2 separate regions of the Homo sapiens genome follow, and region 2 is linked to region 1. The links are contacts of gene promoters, found by promoter capture Hi-C in blood cells and fetal thymus (Javierre and others, 2016). All regions are on one chromosome and are shown on one strand. The core of a region is centred on a gene start or on the middle of the fragment in contact, and the rest is flanking DNA. Distances in the headings are between cores, read along the strand shown. Region 1 holds the start of NDUFA5 (NADH:ubiquinone oxidoreductase subunit A5). Region 2 overlaps HYAL4 (hyaluronidase 4).

Evidence for each region. Contacts are between HindIII fragments. The CHiCAGO score rates a contact against its expected background, and 5 or more counts as called.
Region 2: a contact is called between a fragment that was not itself captured here and the fragment with the promoter of NDUFA5 in region 1, in 1 of 17 cell types (M2 macrophages). The highest score is 8.5, in M2 macrophages.

What each region holds. Positions count from the first base shown.
Region 1 is chr7:123,556,324-123,559,425 of GRCh38, reverse strand. NDUFA5 (NADH:ubiquinone oxidoreductase subunit A5) reads left to right here and starts at 1,608. Exons shown (of 5, transcript NM_005000.5): 1 at 1,608-1,651; 2 at 1,978-2,022. The coding sequence starts at 1,631. RefSeq lists enhancers at 1,131-1,270, 1,531-1,580, 1,321-1,899, 1,136-2,335, 1,900-2,478. The HindIII fragment of the contact is 10,047 bases long and covers 610-3,102 here.
Region 2 is chr7:123,866,970-123,869,987 of GRCh38, reverse strand. It overlaps HYAL4 (hyaluronidase 4), which reads right to left. Exons shown (of 5, transcript NM_012269.3): 3 at 761-1,765. The coding sequence starts at 1,714. Among named protein-coding and RNA genes, the nearest start is that of HYAL4, 23 kb to the right of the region's middle. The HindIII fragment of the contact is 477 bases long and covers 1,210-1,686 here.

The DNA of each region.
Region 1 (3,102 bases), core at 359-2,858:
TCTATATTTTGGAATAGTTTCTTAAGTGTTATTCTTTAATTGTTCAGTGGAATTTACCAGCGAAGCCATCTGGACCTGTGCTTTTCCTTCTGGATAGGTTTTTTTTTTTTTCTTGCTAATTCAATTTCTTTAATTATGTTAGATCTAGTCAGATTTTTCTTTATGCCTTCTTGAGTTGATTTAGGTAGTTTGTGTTTTTCTAGGAATCTGGCCATTTTATCTACTTTATCTTTTTTAAGCATAGTTGTTCATAGTATTCCTTCTTATTCCTGTTTATTTCAGCAAGGCTATTAGTGATGGTTCTTTTATTCTTGCTTGTATTAAATCTTCTCTCTTTTTTTTCTTAGTTTCACTAAAGGTTTGCCAATTTTGTTGATCCTTTTAGGGAACCAATTCCTGGTTTCATTGATTTTCTTTATTGATATTCTGTCTCCTTCTTTTCTAATCTTTAATATTTCCTTTCTTCTGTTTGCTTTTGGTTTAGCTTTCATTTTTTCTAGTCTCATGCCTCTAATGAAAGGCCTCATCTCTTCCAACTCATTCTCTTCAACTGTTGCCTAAGTTGTTTGTATATCTGAAACATAAATTTGATGGTGTCACTTAGAAGCTTAAAAGTCTTCTCATTGTTCCCATTCCTTAAAAAGTAAAATTCAAATTTTGTATAATGGCAAACAACACCTTTCATAATCTTAACCAGTTTACCTTAACAATCAAACCCACCTTTCCAATCACATAAAATCACCTGGAATTTATATATACATTTTTAACCTCTTTTCCTTTGTACTTGTGTTTTCTCAATTTGTTCTTTTCTCCTACTGACTTTTTAGAAAGTCACCCACGCTTTTTAGTTATTTCCTTTTCCCTGGTACCATCACACTTTGCATCAACTTCTTTTAGAACAGTTACCAAATTATTTATTAATACACGCCTTCTTCATTATTCTTTGAATTCCAGGATGTGAAATCCCATTTTAGAAATTATGTCCCAGTAACTGACACATAGTGAGTGGTCAGTGTTTGTGGAGGTAGGAAAAAGTGGTATGGTCTGATATCATTTCATCTGGAAATAAGATGATGTATTTCAGCCAGTGAAATCGAAAAGAGCGATGGAAAATGACCTCACACTCCATAGGGCTTTGGTTCGTAAGACACAGAGAATACTGATATCCTTGTGCGAAGAACTAACTTGCTGTTGAGAGATCAATTCAGAGGATGCTCAAGCTCCGTTATCACTTTCATTTTACTAAACTGAGAAAGGAAGGTTGAGGAATGCATCAACGGTTAAGCACAGTGCAGGTTCCTACAGCGACTGGAGTTTTTTGGTAGTTGGGAGTGTTTCCCTCAATCTTTGGGCAAGCCGTCAGCAGTGGCAGGAACAGGAACAGACAGCTGGGAAACCCTTTCTTTCCCCAATCGTCTTCTAGCTTAGCTTTAGGCTTGTATGCCCATCGCGCATGCGTCAATTTTTCTCTTTTAAGATGGGCGGGGCAGAGTCTTTGCTCCTTTGGCGATCCTGAAGGGGTGGAGCTAAGCTGTTTCCAGGGTGACAGAGTGGCGACCTCGGTGGTCGATTGAGCAGGTCTGAGAATTGTTCCCAAAGGGTTGTGCGTCACCGAGTCGTTGGCGCTGTCATGGCGGGTGTGCTGAAGAAGGTGAGACGAATGGAGGTCACTGTTGGAATTTAGACTGTGGGGGTAGACTCAGTCCGATAGCCCTACTTCCCGCGGGTGTTGACCCCTACTGTCGCGGGCTCGGCGGTGCTTTTCGGGGACTCGTTCTGCATGCCTTACCGGGTAGGGCAGGTTAGTGGTTCCGCTCCGAGAGTCAGGAAAAAAGCTCCAAACAAGCGAGACTGAGAGACCAGTAGCTGGCTTTAGACCAGTTTTAGCCGGGGGATTCGTGGTTTTGTATTTCCTTAGCGTGCTGGATGTATGGAAACCGTAGTAAACAGCATGAATCGTGTTTTGTTTTTGAACAGACCACTGGCCTTGTGGGATTGGCTGTGTGCAATACTCCTCACGAGGTATGTACCTTTGTTCTTTCTTCGTTCTTGAATTCCCAAGGAAGACTAAATTCCTGTCACTTTGCTTATTGCAGGGTTAACGGGATACAGATGTTTCAAGCCCTTAATTACAAGCCGCGTGAGCTCTTGAGACACGGGCGCTGTCCACCTACTTCGTTGATCCGATGTCACATTTTTATTTATTTTTGCCATGACCTCTTTATTAAGCCAGTTTTCTTGTTGACTTTTTCCTTGACATTTTCATGGCTTCACTTGTGCTTGCTTCTGTCAGCGCCATCTCAAATTTATATCTCCGTTTTCCATCTTTTCTCCTTGCCTTACCGTTTCTGCTTAGGTGCGTTGGATTACATATATTTAGGCTTACTAAAGGTACTGCCCCCTTTTCCTTCTGTTAGGTCTTTTCCATCTGTATTCACGAATGTTTTCATCAAAAAAACCCACAAAATTTTTTTATTCTTCTTGTCCCTTCTATAATCACACCATTTCTTTGCTTCACTTTACAGATAACTCAAAAGAGTTATCTCTATTTTCTCCAATTTCTTTCTTATTCACCCTTGAATGCACTCAGTCACCCTTGGCGTTTTTCAAGTTCACCAATTATCTCCATGCTGCCAAATCCAATGGTCAGCTCATATTTCTCACCTTCATTGACCTAATAGCAGCGTTTTTTGACACATTTGACACTTTTTCCATCACGCTCTTTTCAAGTTCACCAGTTATCTCCATGTTGCCAAATCCAATGGTCAGCTTATGTTTCTCACCTTCATTGACCTAATAGCAGCGTTTTTTTTTTTTTGACACATTTGACACTTTTTCCATCATGCGCTTTCTTTACTGGGCTTCAGGACTCCCCCAGTCTCCTGATTTTTTCCCCCTACTCTTTGGCTTTCTCTTTTTCTGGTTATTTCTCTTATGCCCACTTTTAAAATTTGAGTTAGTCAGGATTTAGTTCTTGGACCTTTTCTTTTGGACCTGTACTCTGTCACCAAGAGAGAGCAAATCCAAATAGAGAACGGTTTTAAATACCACCTATACACTGACAACAGATTTCCATGTAAAGCACTGACCTCTTCCTTTATA
Region 2 (3,018 bases), core at 199-2,698, 310 kb before region 1:
CTGGGCACGGTGGCTCATGCCTGTAATCTCAGCACTTTGGGAGGCCGAGGAGGGTGGATCACCTGAGGTCAGGAGTTCAAGGCCAGCCTGTCCAACATGGTGAAACCCCGTCTTTACTAAAAGTACAAAAATTAGCTGGGTGGGGGGGGGTGAGCACCTGTAAACCCAGCTACTTGGGAGGCTGAGGCAGGAGAATCGCTTGAACCCAGGAGGTGGGGGGTGCAGTGAGCCGAGATTGCATCATTACACTCCAGCCTAGGTGACAAGAACAAAAAACTCCATCTTGAAGAAAAAAAAAAAACAAAACAAAGATTAAAATACCCACTACTTTCCCTAGAATTTTTTTGTTTAAGTGGCTAGACAATTCTGCTTCCACATGTATGAGCAAACACTCCATTTCAAAACATCCTTTTTGATTGTCTAACCTGCTCACTGCCGATCATTTCAATAACCTTCCAAAATGCCCGATTGTAAGTGAGTACAGTTAAAGTTGGTGTGCAGGAAATGTAGTCGTTGCTGGTATCTACTTTAACCCTTTCTCACCTTACTTTGTTCCTTAAGAGAATAATAATGAGTAAGATAATCAAAATTCAGTTTCCATAAATGAAGAGTCTAAATGCATGACTAGTCAAGGAAGAATTATGCTCCCATATAACAAACCATTAATTGAAATCAATTCTTCAAAGAACATAATTAACAAAGAAATGTCCTTTTAGAGATAAGGAGGAAATCCCCCACCATTGGACAAGAAGCTTCTTACCTTAGAAAGGAAAAATAAAGGTTCATCTCTGTACCCTAGCCTTGTGTAGACAAATACAGGCAGAGCATAATCATGAGATGTCATGGTGGAGATCCTCATGGATTCATGCACCCGAAATTTGGAGAAGCGCAAAATGTTTTCACTGTCTCCAAGGGATTTCCAGACACCGATAGAAGGATATAAAGCAGCACTGCTGTTCCAGAGCCAAGAGAGCTCATTGTTCCTCAAGACTTCGTCTTCTGGGCATGACCCAGAGTAGTTTGGGGCATAAACGTTATAATTGTGGCAATCAGGATATAAATAATAACCCCAAAGGCCTTTGGGTCGGCTCTTAATTCCCAATTTGATGGTTTCCTTCATGAAAGCTTTTGCACTTTCTTCAAAGGTCACTTTGGCTAAATATTCAATATCGGTAGCTGATACATTCTTTCCCATATCGGAAATAAGCTTTCTTGACTTCTGTCTGTAAACATCTTTTGAGTTCCAGTTCCGGGCCCACTGTGGTCGCCAATATTCCCAATCTATAACAGCAAGTCCACTGAAATCTTCAGCAGGGATGTAATAATTAATATCTTGGTCAGCTTTTTCCAGATGTACTTGTAAACTTATGTTCTGTGGGAGACCTCCATTAATGGGGACCCCTTGTGATGTATACCACGGATAGTATCCCAATCTGTTGACATAAAATATAGTGACATTTTGCCCCCTGGCCTTGGCCAGTGGGCTTCCAATCACAGGAAACATTTTCAAATTTAGTCTTAAATTATATTTTATCAAACACTGATCTGTTGGAGCATTCCAAGCAGCTATAAAAGGTTTCCTTTGATAAATTGGAAGTCGAGCAGGTTTTAGACAAGAGATAGACTTTAGAATAAAAAATATAAGGAGCCATGAAGTGAGATGTACTGGTTGAACAACACAAAGCTTTAACTGTCCTTCAGATAATACTTTCATGGTAAGATAAAAATGTTACGTTATCTTCTGCTTTAGTGCACTCTAGAAGACCTGTGGAGAGATTTAATTTTCTGTTAGTCATAGTTTTGAGGAAAAAGACTCAAATAATAAATAGATATTATTATTATATATGACTATTTGTAAAGTGTATCACTTAAAGGTCTCAAAGAGGCCTATAAATAAATTGAGATATAGAAGCATATGTAGAGACCTAGCTTCTATTCAGGGGCAGGAAATGCAATTCAACAAACATTCATGGAGCACCAGACCCCATGTCCAGAAAACAAAATGAATAAGATGTAGTCCTTGCCTTTAAGGAGTTCATGATCAGATAAAGATGTGAAATAATATTTACCATCATTTTGCAAAACTCATCAAATCCCAGGCATTGTGCTTAACTGCTTTGTAAATATTTTTTTTAAACTTGTAATAACTACATAAGGCTTATAATTACATTTCCATTTTACAAATGGGGAAACTGAGGCTTAGAGAGATGAAAAGGCTTGCCTGATGTCACTTTATATGGAAGGCAAGGTGATGTAAAATTTAAATAATAAAAATGCATAACAAGTACTACATGATAATTTATTGGAGCAATTACTTCTTGGAGTAAGCAGTAGGTAGGAATGGAAAGGAAAGTGATTTGAGTGGCAAGAAATTAAAACCAGCCCAACTATCCCAAAGAATAGATGTTTTGGGTTTCTTCTGAATAAACTTAGAAATTGACCCTCCCAGGGTAAAACTTAAGAAAGTTATATTTGTCTTATCTGGGTTCCTTTCTCGGTAAACCAACCATCAAGCCTCCCAGAATGTTTCAAGGAACTGAAACTTACCAGATTATCACATCTAAACAATGAGACACCAGATGCCTCACTCATCATGATTGCCTAACTGACCACTTGCCTGTTGACCAAGTCCTCTTTCTTACCCTTCCTTAATTCCTGTTTTCCCACACATAGTTACTTTTCTTCCCTACTTTATAGACCCCAAATTTTAGTTGCTTGGGGAGATGGATTCCAGACTGATCCTTTATTCTCCTTGGCTGCAGCACCCAAATAAGGCCTTCTTCCCCAGCAATACTCCTTGACTCAGTGATTGGCTTTCTCTGCAGCAAGCAACAGGACCTAGACCAAACCCCTGGTGTAACAGAATGTCTCAGGGAAGACACTGGAGTTAAAAGAGAAGATAGAGCCAGGCAGGGTGGCTCACGCCTATAATCCCAGCACTTTGGTGAGGCCGAGATGGTCACAAGGTCAAGAGATCAAGACCATCCTGGCCAACATGGGGAAACCCCATCTCTACCA